Linked DNA regions of Homo sapiens: all the other regions are linked to region 4. Evidence: promoter capture Hi-C in 16 types of primary human blood cells and fetal thymus (Javierre and others, 2016). All regions are on one chromosome and are shown on one strand. The core of a region is centred on a gene start or on the middle of the fragment in contact, and the rest is flanking DNA. Distances in the headings are between cores, read along the strand shown.

Region 1 (4,691 bases), core at 1,080-3,579, 700 kb before region 4:
TCTGCTTCAGGGGAAGGTCAGAAAATCCTTACCTGGTTTTATGACCTACTTCAGGGGAGAAGGTCGGGGGAAGGTGAGACTGATCTTCCTGCTGCTTTAGTTTCCTCAAATTCCGTCACCTTAAAATATTTGGGGGCAGGGTGTCCTGAACTCCGTCACCATCAAGTCCAAAACCAAATGCTTCCTCTCCTTCCACCTCGACATGCCTGCTCTTCTTCCTCTGTTCTTTATCGATGAGGTCACCCAAGCTAGAAACCTGGGGTCCTGCTTGAGCTTATCTCCCTCATTTCAAAATCATTTATATCAGCCTCGCTAGTACCTCAGTTCTGACTTTTATCAGAACTATGGTAGCAGCCTCCTAATAGATGCTCACATCAACTCCACAAGTCATCCTCTGACTTGCTGCCAGGATGTCTCTACACAGAGCTCAACTCAGCCATTCTACTCCTTAAAAGGCTCATACTCCCCATTGCCAGAGGTTTCCAACTTCTTTCCCAAAGAAGTAAAGTCTATTTTCTCCCAACAAAACTTGCCCAAAGATCACTTTATAAAAGAGAAAAAAGCAAAGCTACTTTAGCTTTCATCTCTCTTGGTCTCCACCTTCTTGGGCCCTAGAGCACTTCAGGGGAACCCTAGACTCCAAGAGTAAACAGCACTGGCCTAGAGAATCAAATTCAAGCTTCCTGGCAAAATTTACATGGCCTGTCACTGCCTGTCCTCAACTCACACTCCCAGCATCAATTCCCATCACCTTCTCCCATGTCATTGCTTCACACTCTAAGCCTGCACTCACAGAAGCTTTGTACGTTCCATTTTATCTCGGCAAATATTCTTCCCCTCCTCTTTTCCTGGAAAATTACTCTTGTTCTTCACAATACAACATAAATGCCACCTCCTTCCTTCATGAAACTTATCTTTACTCCCTTCTCCCTGACCCATAGCACTTACACTATTATTGTTACAGCACTTACCACACTGTATACATGACTGTCTTCGCTAGACTCTGAACATTTTAAAGAAAAAGATCACCCCTTATTCCTCTTGGCAAGCCTGGCTCATGCCAATGTAAAGGCAGCTAGCAGGTGTTCAATGAACTTGATAAATGTTTTTTTTTAGTGATATAAATTAATGCTGGAATATCCTCACACTGTAATTAGGTAAAGCTACATACTAATGGGTGTATGTCACATGTGCATTCACAGACATATGCTAGATGCTAACAGATAGACAGGACAAAGAACAACCGGCGAAGTGTTAGAACTTGAAGCATAATATTTAATCCTCCTATTTCTCCTTTTCGTTGGTGAGAAGTGGTGGCAATCGTAAATGGGAGATAGATACTCCTAGAATAAGCCTAGAACACTGAAGTAGGAAGAAAAAGCTCCCCTTTCGCATTTCAATATAATCTGTAAATGACCTCTTTTTAAAAGTTAAGAGCATACGGTTTGATAGCACCTCAAACATTGACTGTAAACTCGATCCTTAAATGTCACTTGTACTAATAAAATGCAAGTTCTCTATTCATAAGTGGATTTAGTGAACCAAGCCTTTCTCATTTGCAGGTAGCACTTATGGTTGCAAATGAATTTTGGGAACAAGGAGATCTGGAGAGAACAGTGTTGCAGCAACAACCCATTGTAAGACCTTGACATAAAAATGTATTACTTATTAAAAGTTATCAGGACAGGCCGGGCGCGGTGGCTCACACCTGTAATCCCAGCACTTTGGGAGGCTGAGGTGGGCAGATCACGAGGTCAAAAGATCGAGACCATCCTGACCAACATGGTGTAACCCCGTTTCTACTAAAAATACAAAAATTAGCTGGTCATGGTGGTGCATGCCTGTAGTCCCAGCCACTCGGGAGGCTGAGACAGGAGAATCACTTAAACTCAGAAGGCGAAGGCTGCAGTGAGCCGAGATTGTGGCACTGCACCCAGACTGGAGACAGAGTGAGACTCTGCCTCAAAAAAAAAAAAAAAAAAAAAAAAGTTATCAGGACAAATCAGTCTGTTTTGTTCATACATCTTAGAAACCTGTCTTAAAGGATTTATTTCTCTTTCTAGCCTATGATGGACAGAAACAAAAGAGATGAATTACCTAAACTTCAAGTTGGATTTATTGATTTTGTTTGTACTTTTGTATATAAGGTAAGTAAGCAAATTATTTGAATTAAATACATAAACATTTGGATGAGAAATTTTCTTTCAAACTGTCACCAAAATTTAGAAGTCACCCATACGGAAAGCCATTGGGGTATCACTGTTTCTCCAAAGCAGTTTGAGGTTTTACCCTAATCTCATTCAGGGCTGGAATAAAAGGAGGGAACTCAGATGTGAGCGAACTGAACACTTCCTTAGGCAGGCAGTAAAGACAGCACGTGTCTCTTTCCCAAACTTCATAGGCCCGTGGTTAAACTTATCCTAGCAGCTCTGAGTGCTGTAACAATTCCTTACAGCTCACTCTCTGCATATGAAAGATCCTGAAAATTAACTGTATGATTTATGTAGTTTCTGACCTAAAATTCCTTTTAGGAGTTCTCACGGTTTCACAAAGAAATCACACCTATGCTGAGTGGTCTTCAGAATAACAGAGTAGAATGGAAATCACTAGCTGATGAGTATGATGCAAAGATGAAGGTCATTGAAGAGGAGGCAAAAAAGCAAGAAGGAGGAGCCGAAAAAGGTTAGATGGGCTCTGTTTTTGCTCCCTGTAATGTAGCCAGAAGCTAGGCTGAGCTTAATGGCATGTGACAAAGCCATAAAGAGTCACCACAAACAGAAAACCTGCTTTACTGGTGCAGACTGATCATTTTAACAGGCCGATTAGTGGTTTTCAGGTCCCCCTGGCCCTGCCACAGACAACATCTTATGTATAACTCCAGATCGAATTGACCGGTCCAGTTGAAGTAGAGGTTGGAGCTAGGCTTCTTCATCTTGCTAGAAGGTGGCTCCTCTGCAGAACACTGGGTGCTTAGGGATAATATGTAAACTACAGAATCTGGGGGATTAGAGTTAGGTGAGAAAAAAGTTTTTGTCCCAACATTATGCATTAGCTGTGAGACCTTGGGCAGCTTGCTTAACCTCGCTGAGTTTAATATTCTTCTCCATGTAATGAGGTGGTTTTACAGATCTTCAGCTTAAGGAAGCCCTACATGTAGAGTAAGGCTGAAATTGCCGGTCTCCCAAATGTCTCATTGGGAGATGTTTTTCTGGCATGAGATTCCTGTGCCATTTTTTTTCTGGCATGAAATTTCTATTCCTAAAGTCACTTTGTCAAGTTTAATGTTGTTTTTGGATTCTTAAAATGCTTAGGATTAACTATTAGTTCATCAGATGGCCCAAACATCATTTTGAAAGTGGAATGCTAATTTCTGTCTTGAAAGTTTATCACTCTGAAGGTTTTGTAAGCAATTGTTATTGCTTAACAAAGAAATCATCTCTATGTGGAAAGGCCCTGACATGTTCCTTTTAGGTGGCTCTATTGCATTTAGTGAAATTTTAAATAATTCATAGGAGAAAATATTTTTCTTAACAAAGTTAAGGATGTCCTTCAGAATAAAAGCAGGAGTTTTTGACTCCTTGATATCCATTCACTTATGTATTTATCAGATGTCTTCTCTGTATAAAGCCCGGTGTTAGGCAGGCCCTGGGGAAAGATGGGATCCTTTATCTTGAACAATTTACCATTTGGTGGGGGAACTAAACATTGTGAACCAATGCACAATTAACGATCTCGAAGAAGGCACTAGTGTGCACATGGGCCATGGAGAAGGCTTTCCTGAAGAATGCTTACGCTAACCACAGAAAGCAGGCATTGGGGAGGAAGAGTAAGAAAATATGTACAAAGGCTTGGAGTAGGAATAAGCTTGGTGCAATTGAAAAATTTTTAAGCTGATATAGCTGGAGTCTAGAGAGTAAAGAGTGCGAAGTACATATGAAGCTGGTAGTGCAGGTAGCTGCCAGATACTGTATTGCCTTGAAGGTGGGCTAAAAATGTTCATGGGTCATTTGAGAGATTTAAGGTAAGATATGATTTGCATTTCAAAACAATAAGTGATTTTTACCAAGCAAGTGAAAAGTGAGGGTATTTCTTAGTACTATTAGATTTAACCTTTATCTCAACTTTATTATGAAGAGATGATCAGGTCCTTTAAGTGACATTGGATATGGATCTGTATTTTATTTGCACAAAAATTTACTTCTGAGTTTTTTTGCTACTACATAGAGAATTCTTTGTGGACTAAGATCATTATTTTCTATCACCAGGCATGGAGCTTTGTGCATCAAGCTCAGATTTCCAGACTGCATTGTCTCAGTGAGAAACTAAGATGTTAACTGGCCAACCATTGATCAGATTCTGTTTTTTATTTATTTAATTTATTTTTTTGAGACGGAGTCTCACTCACTCTGTCGCCCAGGCTGGAGTGCAATGGCATGATCTCAGTTCATTGCAACCTGTGCCTCCCAGATTCAAGCGATTCTCCCACCTCAGCCTCCTGAGTAGCTGGGATTACAGGCACATGCCACCACACTCAGCTAATTTTTATATTTTTAGTAGAGACAGGGTTTCACCATATTGACCAGGCTGGTCTTGCACTCCTAATCTCAAGGGATCCACCCGCCTCAGCCTCCCAAAGTGCTGGGATTACAGGCAGGAGCCACTGCACCTAACCCAGATTTTATTTTTTGAAT
Region 2 (4,620 bases), core at 1,731-4,230, 950 kb before region 4:
TGCTCTTCCTTCCTCCTCCTGGTTTGTCACTTTAACACACACGTGTCCCCTCCTTTATCCCTCTACCTTCCCTCTGCACTCAGGAAAAGGTTTACCCTGCTCAGCAGAGTGAAAATCTCAACCCTCTGCCATGCATTAGATCCTGCTACCTCCTGAATATTTGCAGATCCTACTACCTCCTGATTATTTTCAGGCTCCCCAAATGTCTCCTCTCTCTTGTGTACCTCTGGGGGTTCCGTCTCTATTGCAGCTTTTCCTCTGCCTTCAAGTAGACACAGATCTTTCTCTCCCTACAAAACCAAAAACCAAAAATCAACTCTGCCTACTACCTCTCCTCTTTCTTTTATTCACGAGCTCTTTGAAACTCGCTGACAAACTTTAGCTTTTCTTTTCTTAATACACAAAGAGTTAGAACTTCTGGTAATCTGTACAATATAATCTAAGAGAGCCTAGAAGACAAGCCACCCTGTCTAGAACCCTGCTTTTGGATTCTGAAACTCCTTCTCTACGATGCAAGATTATGAAAGAGATTTAATTTCCAAGGACAGTCACCTGTCAGTCATTCACATCCTGGTATGAATGAGTTTCATCAGATTACTATGTAGCATAGCTCTTGAAATCTTGGGCTCTGAAGCCACGTGGCCTAGGCTCAATCCACTCCCCACCCTCCACTTTCGAGCTATGTGAGTCTGAGTAAGTTTCTTAATTTCTCTAAGCTTCAGTTTCTTCATTTGTAAAGAGGGGAAAATAATAGTATTTACCACAGGGTTACTGTAAAGGTGTAATTATCTATAGGCGAAGCCTTTAGCACAGTATCTGGCATACAGAAGCACCCAATAAATTAACTGTTTATTTTTTAGTTTTGCTGTGTAATCAGTTTTGGTTGGTGTCTTCACCTGCTTGGGCTGCTATAACAAAATACCACAACCTGGGTGGCTTTTAGAAAACAGAAATTTATTTCTCACAGTTCTGGAGGTGGGGAAGTCCAAGATCAAGGCACCGGCGGATTCAGTGTCTGGTGAGGGCCCACTTCTTGGTTTGCAGTTGGAGCCTTCTCTGCCTCCCATGATGGAAGAAGCAAAGGAGCTCCCTTGAGCCCATTTTGATCACGGCACTAATCCCATGCATGAGGGCTCTGGCCCCGTGACCTAATCACCTCCCTAAAGGCCTCACTGCCTAATATCATCACGTTCAGGGTTAGGATTTCAATGTGTGAATTGTGGAGGGACACAACCATTCAGACCACTGCAATTGGAAGGGGCTTCTTCTGGAGCACAGGACACTTCCTGGAACCAGCTATGGGGGGTGTGGGGATGGGGCACTGGAGCAGTCCATGGGCAGCACAGCAGGCAGGGGTCCCAAAGTGAGGAAGAGGCAGCCACAAGGGAAAAGGGGGCCTCCACATGCACTGCTTTGCAATTTAGCCCAGGGTGGGCCCTGCTCCTCATCATCCATTCATTCATGCTTCGCCCATCCTAGCCTGGCTTCTGTTCTTCAAAAGTCAATCACCTCTCTTTGCCAAGCTCCGTGCCCTTTTCTGTATCTCCATATTGGATCTTCCACAGCCTTGGACACCAGTGCTCATATACATATTTTTAGATCATTGCAGCTCTCCTCCCCCGATCTGCTTTTTCAGGTTCTTCTGTGGGCCCCTGTTTTTGTCTCCTACTCACTGAGTGTGACTCCCTACTCTGTCCTCTGATCCTTTGACTCAACACTCTGTAGATCCTCACTTCACACTTCCTTCAAGTAGCCATGGACCCACAGAATGTTGTCCTAGAAGGGACCTTAGAGATCCTTGATCCAACCTACCCTTCACCCCATTTTACAGACAGAAAAACTGAGGTCCAGAAAGCTAAGGCAACTTGCCTGTGGTTAAGTTATTAGAAGCTGAGCTAAAACCAGGACCAAGTTTTCACACTGCCTCTCTGGTATAAAACTGGGTTTAAAACCAGGCTGTAGGTGAAGGACATGTTATGCTCCTAGTACCTCAACATCTTTTTCAGGCTACTGGGAAAACCTCATGGAAGTCAAAGATAAGGAATCTTTGTCCTCTGCAAGATGATCTGGACCTCCTCTTGCCTATTCTTGAAGAGACTTCAAAAGAAGGGCTTACCTGCTGTCTCTCTTAGGGCACCTGGATCCAAGCTCTTGGAATCTTCTTCATCCTACTCTCTACCAGGTAAGTTCCTCTCCTTCTTAAGTTTCAGATGAAACTTACTGTCTTCCAACATGCCCTCCCCACCTCTTCCAGATGGAGTTAGTCCCGCTCTCTCCTACCCGCCACACATTGTTCTTTCTAGTCCTCACCACATAGTCTTGCACCTGCTTGTCAACCCATAGGCTTCCCCTACTCCCAGGCATTTCAGAAGCAAGGAGCTTGCCTTTGCTTCTTTGTTTCTGCCCCATGCCTTACAGAACTCATTACACAAAGTATATAGAAAGTGCTTGATAAATGTGGAATGAGTAAACAAATGGGAAGGGGAACAGGATCCCAGGCACAAATGTGCCTTCACATTTGGAAAAACTACTGAACAACTCTCAGGAAAGAACACCCAGATGGCTGAAGGGGTGCTCCTCCCAACCTTGGCACCAGCCTCGGGGAAGCACTGGGGGCCAGGCGCTTCCCCTCGGTAAACCTGTCCTGGACCGAGCAATGGCTGGGGCTGACAGCTGTTGGGTTCCTCCAAGCAGCGAAGACGAACTTCCTTCCATCATCCTGGGCCTAAGTGGTACTTCCTCCTTGCCATAATTATAGCATTTTAGGCTGGTGATTTGTACTTCCTCCTTGCCATAATTACAGCATTTTAGGCTGGTGATTGTTTATGGCAGTAAGCAGGAGAAAAAGTCGGGGTCAATCATACCCCTTTGCAATGCTGGACTCTGGACAAGTACTTATTACATTCTCAGTGGATGCTCTAGAATCAGCCTGCAGATAACAAAGAACGTCTTCTGCTATTCAGACTTTAGGCTAAAGGGATGGGTCAGAGGAAACCAGCCTAAGCCATGGTGACAGCCAGCCTCTGTGCCTTGCAGCAGAAGAATATTCAAGCAGGAAACCTCCCCTTTATGTGGCAGGAAGCTGCAGAGGATTAAACAATGGTACGGGCTCCACAAAGAATGCTATGGGTTCCACAAAGAATGAGGGGGCCCCTATGGCACTGTTAAACACACCCTGATGTGCAAGCTGTGTCATGAGTGAAATGCTAGCAGTTGTGCTGGCAGGCCCTGTTCGTGAGACCCAGGCCTGAATGTGATCCACAGCCAAGTGGATCTACAAAGAGCAACTCTTTCACAACCACAGAGGGCCACACCAAGTCAGGAATCACCCACTGAACAGGAAGCTGCTGGTTGTATTAGCTTCTGAAGGCTGTCGCAGGAAGTCCCACAAACTGGGTGACTTAAAACAATAGAAATGTATTCTCTGGCTAGGCGCAGGGGCTCACACCTCTAATCCCAGTACTTTGGGAGGCCGAAGCAGGAGGATCGCTTGAGCCCAAGAGTTTGAGACCAGCCTGGGCAACATAGGGAGACCCCCCATCTCTACAAAAAAAATTTAAAAACTAGCCGGGTGTGGTGGTGCACACCTGTAGTCTGAGCTATTCGGGAGGCTAAGATGGGAGGACCATCTGAGCCCAGGAGGTCGAGGCTGCAGTGAGCCATGATCATGCCCTTGCACTCTGTCCTGGGTGACAGAGCAAGGAAAGAAAAAGAAAGGTAAGAAAAAGAAAAGAAAAGAAAGAAATGTATTCCCCGACAGTTCCAAACCTTACAAGTATAAAATCAAGATGTTGGCAGAGACGTTCTCTCTCTGAAGCCTCGAGGGAAAAATCCTTCCTGTCTCTTCCTAGCCAGTGGCTCCCGGCAATCCTGAGCATGCCCTGCCTGTGGCTGCATAACTCCAGTCTCTGCCTCTGTGTGGTCACACAGCCTTTCTCCTTCTGTGTCCTCCCGTCTTCTCATAAGAACAAGTGGGCCAGGTTTGGCGGCTCACACCTGTAAACCCAGCACTTTGGGAGGCTGAGGCGGGTGGATCACCTGAGGCCAGGAGTTCAAGACCAGCCTGGTCAACATGGCAAAGCCCCGTTTCTACTAAAAATATTAAAAAATTAGCCAGGTGTGGTGGCGTGCACCTGTGGTCCCAGCTACTTGGGAGGCTGAGGCAGGAGAATCGCTTGAACCTGGAAGGCAGAGGTTGCAGTGAGCTGAGATCATGCCCCTGCACTCCAGCCTGGGCATCAGAGAGAGCCTCTGTCTCAAAAAACAAAACAAACAAACAAGAAACTACAGTCACTGAATTTAGTGTGACTTTATCTTAACTAATTACATCTGCAAAGACCCTGTTTCCAAATAAGGTCATATTCTGAGGTTCCATATAGACATGCATTTTAGAGGGCCACTATTCAGTCCACTAGAGAGGCCATCTTTTTTGTTGTTTTTTGTGGTTTTGTGTTTTTGTTTGTTTGTTTGTTTGTTTTTTTGAGGTGGAGTCTCACTGTGTCATCCAGGCTGGAGTGTAGTGGTACAATTTCAGCTCACTGCAGCCTCTGCTTCCCAGGTTCAAGTGATTCTCCTACCTCAGCCTCCTGAGTAGCTGGGATTACAGGCACCTGCCACCAC
Region 3 (4,496 bases), core at 315-2,814, 680 kb before region 4:
AATGCTGCCCAGAGGACTTTACTTTGAAAAGCAAAATTAAAGAATATCCTTTCAGTCATGATTCCAGGACTGATCTCTGAAGTTCCTTTCAACTTTCAGAAAATGTGGTTGAATTCACTGATTCACTCACCTACACTTATTGAATGCCTCCTATGGGAGCAAGCACTATTAGGAATTAGAGATAACGAAGTAAACATGTCACACAGTCCCTTCCCTTACAGAAAATAAACAATTTATTCCAAGGATACTATGTATTTCTAAAGGAGAAGTGACAGGTATTATTGGAATATGTAAGAGGAACATAATCTTATTTGGAGAAGTGAGGAGAAGGGTGTCAGGAAGGGCCTTTCCAAGGAATTGAGCTAAGCAGAAACCTGAAGGATGACGTAGCTTTTGGGAAAGGGGTGATGGTGAGACAGATAAGATTCTGAACATTTTGCCAAGACAGTCTACCTAAATATCTTGTTCTCCTCATACCTGCCAAAGCAGACTGGTCCTTAAAGTCAGCTACTGATCTTTCTTATTTTTTCTCTCTATCCATTCATTCAGCTATCTAGTTCATCCATCTATTACTTATTTAACATTTTCTAAGACGGTAACCTAAAGCTATGAGAGTTGATGGGATTACACTGGGAGTACAGAGAGAAACTAGAGAAATCTAGGTAAGAGCCCCGAGGAACTCTAACAGCTAAATGTAAGACTGAGAAGGAACTTCAGTTAAAAGCAGCTAAGGAGGTCGGGTGTGATGACTCATGCTGGTAATCCCAGCACTTTGGGGGGCCAAGGTGAGAGAATTGCTTGAGGCCAGGAGTTTGAGACCAGTCTGGGAAACAGCAAGACCCTGTCTCTGCAACAACAACAACAACAAAATTAGCTGAGTATGGTAGTGCAGGCCTGTAGTCCCAGTTACCTGGGAGGCTGAGAAAGGAGGATCACATGGGCCTCCGAGGTTAAGCCTGCTGCAGTGAGCCAAGATCATGCCACTGTATTCCAGCACTCCAGCCTGGGGCCTGGGTGACAGAACAAGACCCTGTCTTACAAAAAAAAAAAAGCATTAGCTAAAGAGAGGCCAGAAAGATAGAAATAAAATTAAAGGAAGTTGTCAACAGTCCAAACGCAGCTGAGATGTTAAGCGTTTATTAATTACTCTTCAAGTCTGGTCCAAATTAAGGTGGTCTGGCAAGAAAGAATCAAATCAATGATAAAGCTAATTCTAGATGATCCCAGATAAGATATTAAAGAGTTCCACATGGTTTTCCTAAAAGTTTGCTAAAATTTTGTTATTTTCTGTTATATACCATAGAAGTTGGGGGTAAAAAAGCTATATTTCTAGAGACTTTGCTTTCAAAGGCATTCTAAATAGAGAATACATAAGAAAGAGATGTCTCAATTCCACCTTGCTTTGGTCTTCTATCCCTGAAGAATCTTCAAAGTCCTTTACTGATTATTATTTATGCTGAACATGAGCTAGTGGGGTGCTGGGGATATAGCAATGAACAAAGCAGGCAGAATCTCTGCCTCTTTGGCTTTTACATCGTCATATGTGTAATAATGGAAAGTGTCAGGAGCCATGACAGCATTACAAATGAGAGTCCTAATTTAGATTCAAGGTGGGGGATGAAATCAGGAAAGGATCCTTGGAAATGACATTTAAGAGCTTAGACCTGAAGGATGAGCTGGGATAGAACTGAGAGTTTTAGGAAGAGAAGACACAGCATCCATGTAACCCCTAAAATTGAAAGAGGCTTGACATTTTCCAGAAACTGAAAGGCTACATGGGGGGAGTGTGAACGTGAGGTACAGAGTGGTAAGAAACAAGCCTTGTATAGTACACAAGTTCTGGATCACAGAGAACCTTTTAGCTTTGTCCAGGATTTTGCTTATCAGCCTAAAAACAACAGGAAATCACTGATTTATGGAGAATGGATTAAGAGGAGGGAAGGTGGGATGGCAAGACAGAGGCGGAACCCGTAAGGAGAATATAACAGTAGCCTATAAGAGAAAATATAGTGGTTTGTAGTAGGGTGGAGAGAACTTGAGAAATATATACTCTGGGGGTAAAATTCACAGGACTTGGTGACAAATTAAACATAAATAATAAGGGGAAAGAAAGTATCAAGGATAATCCCCAGATTTCTGATATTAGTTTTTAGGTCAACATAGGTGTCATCTACTGACAGAACACTAAGGGAAAAATGTCTATAAGGAAGATCATGTGCATATGTACGCATAATACGAAGGGTCCAACCTTAGCCCTGAACCTGAGCATTCATCTACCTGATCTACTTTGATTGTACTGAGTAACATTTTATAAAGTAGAGACTAGTTCTTTCATTTGGAATACGCAGTGATTAACATGGTATCACAGTTGTGATAAGAATGAACATATAATACAATGAGGGCAACAAATTTCTTAAGTGACATATTAAATGTTTTACTAGCATATAAGGATAAATAAGTTTTTAAAACTCAAAACATATTTTTAACATTTATTGGTTAAAATTTACCTTAGAGTGGAAAATAATTAAGATAGAGACAAAAAAGGCATTCTGCTACAAATGCCATCTCTCAATAAGCAATAAAATAACAATATCTTCCTCTCACCATCTATCAATTTTACGAAGTCTAAAGGTTGGTGACACCATATACTTGAAGCTATGGGAGTAGACAGTATCACAAGGGCACACAGATTTAAACTCTGCTACATAATGAATATATTACCATGTGCAAGAAGAAGTAAATGCTTCTAAGCATGCAACATAGCTAATGATCTTCATAGCTGGAGCAAGAGAGCCCTCTCCTGTCCAAATATTATATTAACATTGGCTTGAATCTAATTCAATTACCTATCTAGATTAGTCTGATTCACTATAAATTACAGCCGATTGACTCTACTTTATTATGGGCTAAAAAAAGCAACTAGAAGTAACCTTCATAATAGCTAATATGTGCCAAGTACTATGCAAACTGCTTAATGAATTATCTCGTTTCAACTTCTGAACAATTCTAAAAGGAATCAAGACCATTTTACACATGAAGAAATTGAGTCTTAGCGAGCTTAAGGACTGCTAAAGAAAAAGCAGGCAGTTCTAAGTATAGGTGCACAGCACCATGCTAGGCTCTGAGAACACAGATATATGACAATCTTTCTCATTTCTAGAAACTCATAAACTAGTAAAAAAAGTCACACAGGCCATTATAAATAAAATCAGTGTTACAATTTTATATTGATTTATAGATTATAGACTGTTTAAAGGCACTGATCAAAGTCCCTTTCACATTCTTATTTGAGTTTCCACAATAAGCTTGACCAGTATGAAGGCCAGGTATGCACCTCACCCCTATACACATAAGAAAAATAAAGCAGTTCAGTGACTGATGCAAAGTAACAAGTCTGTAGGTGACAAAGCCAGGAATTAGAAAACTGTTGGCAATATTATACTATCTGCCAAAAATGAACTAAAATTAACCCTTAATTAATTTAGAGGAGTTCTTAAAACTCCTGTAAGTCACTTTAAGTTCATATCTAAATTCTCAGCCAGTTTCCTCTCAACTACCATAAAATGAAATTCTCAATGCATTCACCAATTAGATGAATGAAATATGGCAGATTATATTTCATGCTCACAAATGTGAGTAGATGCCTTATCTTAATTTCCTTTTACCTTTATCTTTTTTCTTGGAGGCCTCTTCTGCAGAAGATAATCTGGATTTTTTATGTGATGACTCTTCACAGTCTTTTTTGGTTTTATCTTTTCTTTTTTTTGACTTGATTTCTTTTCTCCTTTGTGTTAAACAATATAAAATTAAAGTTAACTTTTCCAACTGACCTTTTCAAAAATAACCATCATATGAACAAAAAACCAAAATCAGTTAAAATACTTATTTTTTAAATGTGATTTATATAATAAGGAACGTTAAGTGAGACTGTAAATATTTTATGCTTGTATATTAATTAAAATCATTCTATAAGATAATGAAGTCTTAACACTGACACAAATAATTACTTTCTATAAGTTCTGTATACGACCATAGTAAATACAAATTATAATTGTATTTGTTTCTTTCTTTCTATATTCTATCACTTAGCCATTTAAAACTAAATTACAAAAAAAAGCCTCATTTCCCTTCACATAATCCATATCCACCTACATGTTAAAAAAACACAAAGAAGAAGAAACTGCTGAACAGCTCTAAGCCACCAGTAAATAGAAATTTCTACTCTTAAGAATAAAGGAATATAGTAGAAGCATAATGGAATGAAAATGGAAAGGGCTTATTGTTAATTCATATATCAACATCAGGCCACTTATAATTTATACTCTTATTGTTGCAGCTTTATCTCTTCTAGAGCAGGTTTACAAGGTTGGCAAACAATTAATTAATTTTAATAGGTTAAGAAAAGAAATACTAAATGGGAAAAAGTGATAATGCTGAAATTGGGACTGGCAAGGAGAATAGAGACAAAGGAAAAGATTACTTTCAAAAAACTTGTT
Region 4 (4,214 bases), core at 1,689-4,188:
GTTCATAAACAGATGAATGGATAAAGAAAATACGGGGCCAGGCGCGGTGGCTCACGCCTGTAATCCCAGCACTTTGGGAGGCCAAGGCGGGCAGATCACGAGATCAGGAGATCAAGACCATCCCAGCCAACATGGTGAAACCCCGGCTCTACTAAAAACACAAAAATCAGCCAGATGTGGTGGTGTGCGCCTGTAATCCTAGCTACTCGGGAGGCTAAGGCAGGAGAATCACTTGAACTGGGGAGTCGGGGGTTGCAGTGAGCCGGGATCGTGCCACTGCACTCCAGCCTGGCAACAGAGAGAGACTCCATCTCAAAAAAAATAATAATAATAATAATAAAAGAAAATATGGTACATGTACACAATGTAGTATTATTCAGCCACAAAAAAGAATGAGATCCTGTGTGCAACAACATGGATGAAACTAAAGGCCATTATGCTAAGTTAAACAAGCTAGGCACAGAAAGACAAATTTCACATGTTCTCACTTATTTGTGGTAGCTAAAAATTAAAACAACTGAACTCATGAAGAGAGTAGAATGATGGTTACCACTGGCTGGGAAAGGCAGTTGGAGGAGATAGGAGTAGGGATGGTTAATGGGTACAAAAATACACTTAGAAAAAGATCTAGTATTTGATAGATAGGATGACTATAGTCAACAATAATTTATTTTATGTTTTAAAATAACTAAAAAAGTATAACTGGATTGTTCGTAACACAAAGATAAATGCTTGAGGTGATGGATACCACATTTACTCTGATGTGATTATTATGCATTGTATGCCTGTATCAAAGTACCTCATGTATCCCATAAATATATACACCTACTATGTACCCACAAAATTAGAAAAAAAAAAAACTTTAGCTGGGTGCTGTGGCTCACCCTTGCAATTCCAGCACTTTTGGAGGCTGAAGCAGGAGGACTGCCTGAGCCCAGGAGGTCAAGGCTGTAGTGGGCTATTTTTGCACACTGCACTCCAGCCTGGGTGACAGAACAAGACCCTGTCTATTTAAAATAATAATAATAATTTTTAAAAAATGGACCTGAGAAGACTGAATAGTTGTCTAATAATCTGATATAGTCAAATAAGAATACCCTAAAAGTACCAGCAAAGTTGTAGAACTAGCCTGACTCAAAATAGTCATATTCCTTACAAGTTTTGAGTACTTAATAATTTTTAGATAGTTTTACAAAATAACCATGACAATTACAACTCAATTTCACCCCAAGTTTCCACATGAAAAGAAAGTCAGAAGTTTAGAAGTGTACCTTGGCAATACTGTGAAGAATGAACCAGAGACAAGCAATGTTCTTACCTTACCTAACTGCTGGTGAATGGCAAAGTGGCAGCACTGGCACACTGCCCAATATTTATGTAACGGAGTACTTTCAGTTTGTTTTCCCAAGTAGTGCATCTTCAGATCTGCCTTCCAGACAAACTAAAAGCAGAAGCTTGAATGAATACTGTATTGAAATGTTTTCTCATACTGACTGTGATAAAGCATATATGCTTTATAGCAGTCCTATAGGACTACTATCCTTACCCACTCTAGGAAGATCTGAGAACAAGAAAAGCGATTACTAGAAAGCAAAGTTATTTCCATGAAGAACACTTCAGAATAAATCAATGGAAACCAGAGCACATGATGTTTTCACAATTACCTGGTCGCTTTTCCTTTGGGTTCTCCAATGGAATGGGTTTCTTAGACACAGCATCTTTCACAGCTTGCCTTAGTTTCCTCTGTTCTTTTCGGTACTTCTTGAGAGTGCTTTGTTGTTTAAACTGCTTATTTTTTAGCTTGTTTTCAAGTTTGACTTTACTAGTTTTTATTAACTTGCGAAAGCTTGGGATCTGTTTTTTATTTCTTCTCTAGAAAATAACAGAAAGAATACTGCATACCCAGAAACTTATTTTTTAAATCAGGTTAAAGAGAACTGATTACAAATTTCATTAGACCAATTCCACAATTTCAATGTCCCACAGCCACAGACTTGCATATAAAAGCTAAAACCAAACGATGGCTTTAATCCTACAGAAGAGCGCTACAGCATCAGTTATTCAATCCCAATTCACAGCAATTCAAAGGGTTCTACGATCCCCAAACAGGTTAAGAACCACTGATCTAGTAGTGGTAAGTGGCTATTCAAGGCTAGTTTAACACACCTGTAGTTTAACACATTCAAAGCAAAATGCTGGCTGTCTTTAATAAAACTTACATTTATCTACGATTTTATTACTTACAAAGTGCTCCAACAAATCACCTCTAACAGCCTAGTTGAGTACTGACTGCTGTTATCCTCACATTACTGATGAAGCTGCCAAAAGACCCATAAACTAAGGAGGGCAAAACTGAATTCGGATCTTTGGATTCCACTTCTCTTGCTGGTGACTCATTCAGAAATCCCAAAGTTAGTCCTGAACCCCAGGACTACCTCTTATTTTCTGGGAGAACCAGGACAAATCACTTGCTTTTCTATCTCTTTACCCTTCATGGGTACCGTGACTCACATTATAAACTCGCTGAGGGTAGGACCCTGCTTCTCATTTGTGAAAAACGAGTTCGAAAGACGGTCTTGAAAAATTCCTTCAAAGTATGAAATCCCACGCATGCAAAACTCCGTGCCTGTCTCTTCGTGATACTCTGAAGTGGTGCGCGCACACAGTGGGTAACCAAGGATGAGCTCGGTGTAAGGAATGGAAAGCCCCCAGTCTAAACCACCGCCCCCTAGACACGGGTGAAAACCTGCCTAAAAGCTAACTCAGGCAGTGACTCTATCACCCGAAGGGGCCCTAGGCCGCGGCGACCGGGCTTTTGAGGACACTTACCGCCTTCATCCTTAGGCCTTAAATGAATGCCGGCCAGACAAGTTCACCAGAAGCAGGGTTACTACAGAAATCCCGGGGAATGACACACGTGCCGAAGTCCCTACACTACCAGAGCCGGAAACGGCCTTCAGTCCCTCCCAATCCTCCGCCGCCGGAAGTGAGGGCGGGACTTCCGTAGACAGGTTCGGGCTCGCGCCCTCTCGCGGTGACTGTCTCGCGGCCCTGGACCGGTTGCCCCCCGGCGTGCGCGCGCGGACTGGCACGAGGGAAGCCCCGAGGGCGTCGGTGCCAAAGGCGGGAAGCCGGGCGGGAGGGGCGCATTTTGCAAGGTTATCTGAGTATGATTCTTTGACTCTCGCCCTATTTATTTCTTTTAAAACCTTGGGGAAATCGGGCTCCTCCTCTCAGAATGAGAGGACTTGGTTTTTTCGGTCACCTCATTGCATTTTGTGCCTCTCCTCACGTTGCTTATCTCATGCTGTTATAGATACTGATTTTCGTAGTCTTTTTCCTCCATACAGTCCTGAGGGCAGAAAGAAGCTTATTTTTTGTGTGTAATGCCTGCCCCTCGACGGACATTCTGGCCGTGTTTGTAGCATGGCGAATGATTTCTCATCAGCCTTGGTCACTTAAAAGTCTGTGATTCTTAGTGTTTTATTTTGCATTTTTTTTTTGCTTTAATTTTTAACCATTAGCTGATAAAGAACTGTATCCATGGCTGGGTGCGGTGGTTCACGCTTGTAATCCCAGCACTTAGGGAGGCAGAGGCGGGTGGATCACCTGAGTTCCAGGAGTTCGAGACCAGCCTGGCCAACATGGTGAAACCCTGTCTCTACTAAAAATACAAAAATCAGCCAGACATGGTGGCGTGCGCCTGTAATCCTAGCTACTCGGGAGGCTGAGGCAGGAGAATCGCTTGAACCCAGGAGGCAGAGGTTGCAGTGAGTCGAGATCACACCACTGCACTCCAGCCTGGGTGACAGAGCAAGACTGTCTAAAAAATAAAAATAAAAATAAAAAACTGTATCTGCATTTCAGTATCTTACAACTTTGGGTAAATTCTGTCTGCTTAGTAATTTCACCAAAGTCGTTTTTTGTTTTTGTTTTTTGAGACGGAGTCTTGCTCTGGCGCCCAGGCTGGAGTGCAGTGGCGCAATCTGGGCTCATTGCAAGCTCTGCCTTCTGGGTTCACGCCATTCTCCTGCCTCAGCCTCCCGAGTAACTGGAACTACAGGCGCCCGCCACCACGCCCAGCTAATTTTTTTTGTATTTTTAGTAGAGACGGGGTTTCACCGTGTTAGCCAGGATGGTCTCGATCTCCTGACCTCGTGATTCGCCCACCTTGGCCTCCCAAAGTGCTGGGATAACAGGCATGAGCCACCGCG
Region 5 (4,573 bases), core at 437-2,936, 660 kb before region 4:
ACATCCTCAACCTCCTGGGCTCAATCAATCCTCCCACCTCAGCCTCTCCAAGTAGCTGAGACTACAGGAGTGCATAATCACACCTGGCAAACTTAAAAAAATTTTTTTTTTGTAGATAAGGGGTTTCGCCATGTTGCCCACGCCGGTCTCAAACTCCTGGGCTTGAGCAATCCGTCCACCTCAGCATCCCAAAATGCTGGGACTTCATTTTAGAACTGAAATTCTTAGAAATGCTGGAAGACCTCAGTTGCCACTCAATTGTATTGGAAGAAGCTCCTAGTTCCAGCTTTGCACTGAATTTGGAACACACACTAAGAAGGAAGGATGGACTATTTGATGTCATACATAACTAATTTACATGGCTGGAAGGAACAGTCCAGGTTAAATGATATATCAAATTGTTAAAACTAATATAACGACAGCAAGTGCAGCTGGAAAAAGAGGAAAGAACTCTCTAAACTTCATTGCATTGGATCTAGGGTAAACGACATGTTTCTAGTCCTGGCTACCTTGAATAAGTCATTTCATCTCCCTGGACTTCATCTATTAAATAAGATAGCTACATGAAATAATCTTTAAGTTGTTTAAATCTTTAAATAACCTTTAAAGTCTGTAATTCCATTTTCAAACATAGGTGTGTGGGTATATACCTCTCTTCTCTGCCCCACTAAAATCCTAGATAGGAAGATGCTAGTTAAGGTTGGAGATGAAGGTTTGAAAGCCCGAGTTCCAACTCTACCCTCCCTTACATCTGTTATTGCCTTACACACCTGGATTTTACACCCTTTTTTAGGTCAACTCCAGCTGTCTTACCACATCTGTTCAAGCCATATTGTCCTCTCACTCTTTGTCCTATGTCCTCACGTTCTTTACATCTTGATGGGGGACAGCTGTAGTGTGTTTAGAGATATATTCTAGGATCAGCCTACTAGATTTCACTGCTTGGCTCTGCACTTTCCATTTGTCTTTCTTTGGGCCTGTTCCTTAACCTCTCCAAGCCTCAGTGTCCTCATTTATAAAAAGAGGCTAGTAAGATGGCTGACCTCATACGAATGGAGATTAAAAGAGTTGCCTCATCTAAAGGGTTTTAACGGTGTCTTGTACAGTGAAACCCAGTAAATGTTACATCATCATCATCATCTTTTCCCTCGCCCCAGGACACGACTTCCTATTCTTGCTCCCACTCTCCCATTTCTTTATTCGCTGGCCGCTCCATCCGACCCATACCTATCTTAACTCACTGGTTGAACTAAAAAGCTCTCACTCACTTCAGGCCTACGAATCAACTGACAAGAGCGGGGAGAAACTCAAAAACGGAGATGCCAGGTGTCTCCAGAATCTGTCATCCAAAAAAAAAAAAACCAAACCAAAACAAAAAAAAACCCGACGATCAGCTAGTACTATATGAAAAACAAGTTTTGAGGTCCTTCTCCCTGATGCCAAATATACCCACAGCCCTCCTCACACACCCTTTCCCTTCCTCCCTGTGTGCCAAGTTCGCCCCCGGAGTCGTCGTTTCCTTCTTTCCCGGCAGCTGCAGCGACGACCCACGGCCTGAGAGAGCCGCTGCAGCACAGGTCCCGTGCGCCCTGCCGCACAGCCTCGCCACAACCACCACCGCCGCCGCCGCCGCCGCCGCCGCCCGCAACCCGCCTCTCCCTACGGGTCCCGACTGGGCACCACTTCCGGTCCGACACGGCCACGTGTTACATCTAAATGGCACCGTCCCCCGAGTGCGCCGACCTTGTGCTACAGCCAGAACAGCTCCGGGAAACAAGGGCAGCGGGAGAAACGGCCCGGAAAGGGACGAAGAGGCTTCCAGCTTTCGCCAAGTCGCGGCTCCCAGTTTTTCCCTGGGCCTCCTTCCTTTCCCCTCTAGGGAATCCGGCATCTAGTACCGCTGGCACTGCTTGCTGCTTAGCCCACGCCTCTCATTTGAAAATATATTTTGTTTTACCGTGCCTATCACCTGCCGTCCTCTCTCTAGTAACCTTAGTAACGCCTCCTCGGAGGATCCTCTCAGAGCAGCTCATCAGCGCTTCAGATCAGCCTCTCCCTCCTTCCCCCAGTAAAACAGTTCTCATAATTAGAACAAAAATATCTCTCCATCGTTTCGCCACCCACACAATAGATACCATTCCAAAAGCAGTGCTGATGGCAGAAGAGCTCATCGAATTTGTGAGGAAAGAAAGAATAGGAGGAGAGATTTCTCAGGGTTGAGGATTCTCTGCCGACAAGCGACCTGGCACATGCGAAAAGGGATCCAAAATAGAATCTTAAAAAGAAGAAGAAAAAAGGCAGGAAAAGTTGGATTATTTTAAGCGCCACTAGGTTCTTCCTGTGCTTTGCGTTTTCTACATCACGACGCCCCACTCTTTCCACTCTAGTTGTTTGGTTCATGTCTTGTCTCTCGCTGGCATTAGCAGCTATTCATTTTTTGCTTCCTCCTCAGTACCCAAAACGGTGCCTTGGAAATCACAAGTGCTAATTAAATATTTGTTGAATTGAACTGGCACGCTTCTGGCGTTTACAGTGGGCCCTTTTTAGAGAAAACCTTGGCACTTAATGCACAGTCATTTTACATCTTTTGCCCTAAACAGTAGATAACGATATCCTTATCAGTTCAAGTCTCTAACCCTGACAATAAATTATAGATACATTCTGCTTTATCCATTGCACTGAATGTGATCTTAAAAGGCTATAAGATAAATTAAATTATTGTAAATTAACTTATTCCAAAATGCAATCAGATTATACTTCAATAAAAACTTTTACTAAAAAAAGTGAAAGCAATAGGAAGCCTTACAATTTGACGTTATAGTATATGGAATTATTTTGTCAAGCAGTTTCTTTTTTGGTAAATATATTAAATATATAATTATTTTATTGTTAATAAAACTAAACAGACCTATACCTCATATCCAATTTCCTTTCTATCCATATTTGACATTTATTAGCATTTTTCTACCATCCCTAGCATCTTCTTGTTTGTTGCTTCATTTTACTCTTCCAACAACCCTGTGCTGCTGTGTTATTAGCCTCATTTTACACATAAGGAAGAGAGGCACAGAACCTAAAGCCACAAACCTGGTGAGGGTCGAGAACTGGGTAGTACTTGTGTCTGTCTCTCTATAAGACCCAGTTTCTCTCTCTCTCTTTCTCTCTTTTCTCTCTCTCTCTCTGTCTCTCTCTCCCCCACTTCATGGATTGTGTGGGAAGTAGCTTCTGGTTCCAACATTTCTAAGAATTTCAGATCTGTTGCTACCAGTCCATTCAGGCAAAGATTTCCATTTTTTACTTTGAGACAGCAGTTACTGAAAAAGAGTAAATAGAAAATATATATTAGGCATAGATTGCATGATCTGAACTAGAAATAATACAGGATAGAAAACCCACCTGCTTAGGAAATCTCAAGTTAACAATTATAGCTCAACAACAATAAAAAACACAAACATTTATTCAGTGCCTACTCTGGGCAGGACACTGCCCTAGACATCAGGGTTACAGGTATGTAACAGCAACTCCTTATCCTTGAAGGTTGACTAGTAAGACAGACAATGTGTGGAATAACTACAACAATATATTCTATCATATACCAAGTGTCTAGTACATGCATGAACCTGTTGTTCCTAATTTATAAAATATGTTATTTCAATGGATATGAAAATTTAAATGTGCACCAATGCTATGTAACTCAAAGCAACAAAATACTATATTAAGTATGTGGTCAGGATGAGGGAAGTTGGGTGATGATGGTGGTGATAATACCAAGTAATAATTCTGATATAAACTATGACTGTGCATTCTTTTTTATTCAAGACCGAGTCTCACTCTGTCACCCAGGCTGGAGTGTAGTGGCGTGATCTCAGCTCACTCCAACCCCTGCCTCCTGGGTTCGAGCAATTCTCCTGTCTCAGCCTCCCGAGTAGCTGGGACTAGAGGCGCACACTACGCCCGGCTAATTTTTGTATTTTTTTACTAGAGATGGGGTTTCACCATGTTGGTCAGGCTGGTCTCGAACTCCTGACCTCAGGTGATCCACCCACCTTGGTCTCCCAAAGTGCTGGACTTACAGGCGTAAGCCACCGCGCCCAACAAATGTGCATTCTTTCTTTTCTTTTCTTTTTTTTTTTTTTGAGACAGGGTCTCACTTCATCACCCAGGCTGAAGTATAGTGGTGCCATCTCAGCTCAACCTCCACCTCCCGGGTTCAAGCCATTCTCCTGCTTCAGCCTTCCCAGTAGCTGGGACTACAGGTGTGAGCCACCATGCCTGGCTAATTTTTGTATTTTTAGTAGAGGCAGGGTTTCACCATGTTGGCCAGGCTGGTCTCGAACTCCTGACCTCAAGTGATCCCGCCTTGGCCTCCTAAAGTGCTGGGATTACAGGGGTGAGCCACTGCGCCTGGCTGAATATGCATTCTTCTAATACTGTGTGTCTTTGAGAAGATTGCATTTTCCATGTTCTTTTTATAATATGATGCTGACACTTCTCTAACATAAGCTAATACCTATGGCCACAGCTTTGAATCTGGGCATGTCAGTGACTATAGCAGAAGTAATGCTAAGACACT
Region 6 (4,423 bases), core at 1,682-4,181, 540 kb before region 4:
ATTTTGATATCTGAGCTGCTGGATGCATGCGCTTTCTTTCTCTCTCTGATTCCCCCCCCCACCCACCTCACTGAAGTAGGATAAGGGCAGAGATAACTGAGAGGAGGTGGAATTCACTGGGGAAATTACCTCGGAAGCAGGCTATGGAAGAGGGCACCACAGAAACAGGTCCCCCTGTAACCATAGTGACGGCTGAAGAAGGAAGGGCACAGTGGAGAGAGGGAGCAAGGACAGGGACACGGGAAAAGCTGGGAGCGAAGGGGACCCCCAGGTCAAAGGGGCGAGTGACAGAAGCTGTGACTAGTTGAGGCTAAATTCAGGTTTTTAAAGGAAGATGAATTAATTTCTAACTGCAATTATTTAGGGAGGCAAGATGCATGTGATGTTATGGGTTCTTTTTACCTTTAAATGGAGTATAATTTTTTTTAAAGTTTAGCTATTTTTACTAAAGCAAGATTAGGAGAGAGCAGTGGAAAGTTGTGGCTAGAAGTGGAAATGGGTGTCAGGAGAGTTCGAGAGGAAGGTAGACTCAGAGCTCCCTAGAATCTCAGACACTGTCCTCATCTTGGGTGGAAGCAGCGCCCGGCTGCCTCCTGGTGGCAGCTGGTTCCAATTAGCAGGGAGTAATTAGGAGGAGGTTTCACTCGCTGACGCTGAAATGGCAAAATCCAAGCCACAGGCATAGACGGATGGCCAGATTTAGCACATAAAAATACAGGGTGCTCTGTTAAATTTGAATGTCAGACAAACATGAACAATATTTTAGTTTGCGCTTGCTTCATGACAACCTTAGTAAGGCAGTACATACTGATTCAATTTCTTCCTCTTGGTCTCTCGCCTCTGCATTTTTAAAAAAGAAAGGAGATGACATTCAACCAAGGTAGATAGTAAATAAATAAATAAGTAAGTAAATAAATGAAAGGGAAGGAAGGAGAAAAGAAGAGAGGCAGGTAGGGAGAGAAGGAGGAAGGCTCTTGGCCCCAAATTATCATTTCCTCTAATTCTCCATTTACAAAACTCCATTCCTTCTTGCCCCCTCACCACCCGCCTCTTTTCACCATCCTAGGGACACTTTGTAACTATTCCCTACAATATGTCTTCAAAACATTAAATCAGAACCAAGCCACACCAATGAAAGCAAACCTCAACTCTCTGGTTCCAAAAACCACCGGGGTCTCTTCCTGGACACTAAAGATATATTCTGACCCCCTCCTCCTGCCTCCCGTGAGCCTCCACCTCGGCAGCATGACTTGCTGCTGCTAGATCTGTACCTGCCAGCTCACCTCACCTCTTAACCCCCTGCTTGCATTTTCTTCAGGTTCTTGTCTTTGATGCACAGTTCTTAAAGTATCTCCTAATTAAGTGCTCGGAAACAGGTGCCAATAAATCTAGTTACAGTAATATTTCAAAGAGGTGTTTTACAAAATAAATCGATGTTTATGGTTCAGTATGTGGTGTATGGTAATGGTGTTCTTTAATGGATTTTCCTCACACAGCCCATCTCAGCTCCAGCTGAGGCTGGATGCTCCCAGCCCCCAGCCCCTAGCCCCAGTTCCCCGTCCTAACTGAACACTACTACAGAAAAGTCCAGAAAGAAGACAGCAGTTCACTTATCATCTTGAAACTTCAATCAGATCATGCCATTCTGCTTAAAACCCTCCATTGCTCTCCTATAACATTTAGAATAAGATACAGAATGTCCACAATGGCCTCTAAAGTCTGTGGGGTTTTCCTCTACCCACAGCATCCCACCCTATTCCCTGCTCACTGCTATCTAGCCCCATGAAAACCCTTTCTGTTCATGGAAGATGCGAAACCTTTTTCTGCCTCAGACTCTTGTACTTGTTTTCCCTTCTGCCTGGAATGCTTCCCCATGCCCAGTTCTTTGGATGGAGAGGTCATTCTAATGCTTCAGGACCCAGTTCTAAGGTGTTAAGAATATTCTATATCCTGGAATTTGTGCACCTTATTGTATGGATGTCACATCTCGGTAAAAGGTAAAATGTAATGTATTACTAATTCACTACTAGATCACCCTTTTGATTTCCTTCCTGACAATGATCACAAACCATAATTATCATATTAACTTGTTTACTTGTTTACTGTCTGTCTTCCACTTAGATCAGGAGGTGGCAAACTATGCCACCATCCAAGTCTAGCCACCACTTATTTTTATAAACAAAGTTTCATTGGTACCTAGCCACACCCATCCATTTACTGTTGTCTGTGGCTGCTTTTACTAAGCTACAGTGGCAGAACTGAGTAATTGTAACACAGATTGTATAGCTTCACAAAACCTAAGATGCTTACTGTCTAGCCCTTTCCAAAAAAAAAAAAACAGCTTGAAACCCCTGCCATGGACTGTAAGTTTCATGAAGGCAAGAACTGTGTCAGTCTTCTCCACCTGTATTTCAGGATCCAAAACAGTGCCTGGCACAAACTCAGCAACCCCTCAATAAGTGTTGGCTCCTGTCCGGCCCCTACCACTGGCTCCCCTGGCGCAGTCTCCTAGCTTGCCCTTTCCCTCATCTGATCCTGGCGCCTGGCCATTTGCCTGCAGAGTGTAGGTTCTTGCCATCTGCCAGTCCCTTGTAGCCCTGCCTCCTTGCTCGATGTCACCAAACTGGTGCTTCTTGTGCCCTGATGCTGAAAACCCATCTAATCACAACCAATAATCTTCTAACACAAAAGCTTCCTCTGCTGTTTGTGTGTTTTAGAAGCAATCGTTTTGTAGTATGCCAATCCATTCTCTATAATCATGAAAGATGCCTGTCTTAAAATGTCCTTCTATCATTCAGCTTTTTGTTAATATATTTATTTAGGTATCTTCCTATTATAAAAGCGATTCATATACATAACACACAATTTTGAAAATAAAGAAAAACTAAGAGACAACCGTTTTTAGCACTGATGTGGTTTCTTTTTATTAGTCTTTCTATGCTATTTTTTAATGCATGCTTGTATAAAACAACAAAAAATGGCTACAAATTTTCTCCCTTGTATTATAATAAGCATTTTTATATCATATATTCTTTGTAAAGTATTATTTTAGTAGCTGCATAATATTATATTAAATGGAAATATTAATATTTATTTATTGTTGGGAAATATTTATAATATATTCAGATCTTTACCATAGAAAGTAATACAGCCATGAACATCTTTGTGTATGAAGCTTTTTTCCCCCATTTTTTGGATTACTTCCTCTAGGAAGAGTTCCAGAAACAGAATTACTGGATCAAGAACCATTGTTTTGAGTTCAGATAAATACTGGCATCCTCACTTTTAAAAGGCCTGAAAACTTCTTAATAAAGATATCAGAGCAAATGCATTCATAATCCTCTTTCCTGTGCTCCAAGTCCATAGGAATGACAGGTTAGATATTAAATACATATTTCTATGCTTCTCTAAAAATGCAAGAGGAAAATGTCACTGGCTCAAAAAAGGAGTAAAACTTAAACAATAAGCAAAGTATAAAACCACAGGGACAAACAGTGAGACTGGAACTAGGCAAACAAGACTGGAGTCCAGAGGAAGGACTGAATGTAGCCCTTGGTAGTGGGGAGCTACCCAAGAACAGTGGATGACAGAACTTCATCCGTACATCTAGAACAGTGGCAGAAATACACCACTTGCTCAGGGTCAGTGTCCAAAGCAGAGTCCTATATTAGTCCATTCTCACACTGCTAGAAAGAACTATTTGAGACTTGGTTATTTATGAAGAAAAGGAGTTTAATTGACTCACGGTTCAACAGGCTCTACAGTTTCACATGGCCAGGGGGCCTCAGGAAACTTACAATCATGGCAGAAGGTGAAGGAGAAGCATATCTTAGCAAGGCAGAGTAGAAGGAGAGACAGAATGAGGGGGAAAGTGCCACACACTTTTAAACCATCGGATCTCATGAGAACTCATTCGTTATCACAAGAACAGCAAGGGGGAAATCCACCTCCGTGATCCAATCACCTCCCACCAGTCTCCTCCCCTGACATGTGAGGATTGCAATTTGACATAAGATTTGGGTGAGACATGGAGCCAAACCATATCAGTGCTATTCCTGGTGCTGGAGAGGAAACACTTTACCTTCACAGAGTCAGTGCCTGGGGGCCTACGAATCTAAACCATCAAAAGATAGATTGACAAGAGAAAAGAAGAGTTGATTTAAGCATGCAATGTGCATACACACAGGAGTGCTCAGTGATGCACTCAGTGATTGTGCTCACTGTTAGAATTCAGGGCTTATGTACCTAACATAGTAGGGGAAGGAAAAAGGAGAAAAGGCTCCTATGAGAAGAACAAATAGGTTTCCTTAGGAAAGACAATTGGATTTTTATGAGAATAAATGGGAGATAAGAAAGTTTGTGACATTTTATTTACATAGGTGCTAGTGGCCTTTCTCTCTTCTTCACAGCTAGGACTCTCCCT

The links. The method cuts DNA at HindIII sites, captures the fragments that hold promoters and counts their contacts. A CHiCAGO score of 5 or more calls a contact.
Region 1: a contact is called between a fragment that was not itself captured here and the fragment with the promoter of NOC3L in region 4, in 1 of 17 cell types (non-activated CD4 T cells). The highest score is 6.0, in non-activated CD4 T cells.
Region 2: a contact is called between a fragment that was not itself captured here and the fragment with the promoter of NOC3L in region 4, in 1 of 17 cell types (non-activated CD4 T cells). The highest score is 5.2, in non-activated CD4 T cells.
Region 3: a fragment that was not itself captured here is called in contact with the fragment with the promoter of NOC3L in region 4 in 1 of 17 cell types (naive CD8 T cells); the score reaches 5.1 in naive CD8 T cells.
Region 5: the fragment with the promoter of FRA10AC1 here is called in contact with the fragment with the promoter of NOC3L in region 4 in 8 of 17 cell types (naive CD8 T cells, total CD4 T cells, naive CD4 T cells and 5 more); the score reaches 9.5 in naive CD8 T cells.
Region 6: a fragment that was not itself captured here is called in contact with the fragment with the promoter of NOC3L in region 4 in 3 of 17 cell types (megakaryocytes, M2 macrophages and M1 macrophages); the score reaches 6.6 in megakaryocytes.

Annotation. Positions count from the first base shown.
Region 1 is chr10:93,660,497-93,665,187 of GRCh38, forward strand. It overlaps PDE6C (phosphodiesterase 6C), which reads left to right. Exons shown (of 22, transcript NM_006204.4): 19 at 1,563-1,637; 20 at 2,064-2,147; 21 at 2,532-2,682. Among named protein-coding and RNA genes, the nearest start is that of FRA10AC1, 40 kb to the right of the region's middle. The HindIII fragment of the contact is 3,066 bases long and covers 797-3,862 here.
Region 2 is chr10:93,410,281-93,414,900 of GRCh38, forward strand. All of the region lies in intron 5 of MYOF (myoferlin), which reads right to left. Among named protein-coding and RNA genes, the nearest start is that of MYOF, 70 kb to the right of the region's middle. The HindIII fragment of the contact is 4,532 bases long and covers 715-4,620 here.
Region 3 is chr10:93,677,815-93,682,310 of GRCh38, forward strand. It overlaps FRA10AC1 (FRA10A associated CGG repeat 1), which reads right to left. Exons shown (of 14, transcript NM_145246.5): 11 at 3,666-3,784. Among named protein-coding and RNA genes, the nearest start is that of FRA10AC1, 23 kb to the right of the region's middle. The HindIII fragment of the contact is 3,477 bases long and covers 1-3,303 here.
Region 4 is chr10:94,360,001-94,364,214 of GRCh38, forward strand. It overlaps NOC3L (NOC3 like DNA replication regulator), which reads right to left and starts at 2,939. Exons shown (of 21, transcript NM_022451.11): 1 at 2,830-2,939; 2 at 1,665-1,872. The coding sequence starts at 2,838. RefSeq lists an enhancer at 2,613-2,872 and a silencer at 3,013-3,142. The HindIII fragment of the contact is 1,523 bases long and covers 1,845-3,367 here.
Region 5 is chr10:93,700,906-93,705,478 of GRCh38, forward strand. FRA10AC1 (FRA10A associated CGG repeat 1) reads right to left here and starts at 1,687. Exons shown (of 14, transcript NM_145246.5): 1 at 1,470-1,687. RefSeq lists an enhancer at 1,676-1,975. The HindIII fragment of the contact is 26,065 bases long and covers 1-4,573 here.
Region 6 is chr10:93,815,753-93,820,175 of GRCh38, forward strand. No RefSeq gene overlaps it. Among named protein-coding and RNA genes, the nearest start is that of LGI1, 60 kb to the left of the region's middle. The HindIII fragment of the contact is 484 bases long and covers 2,690-3,173 here.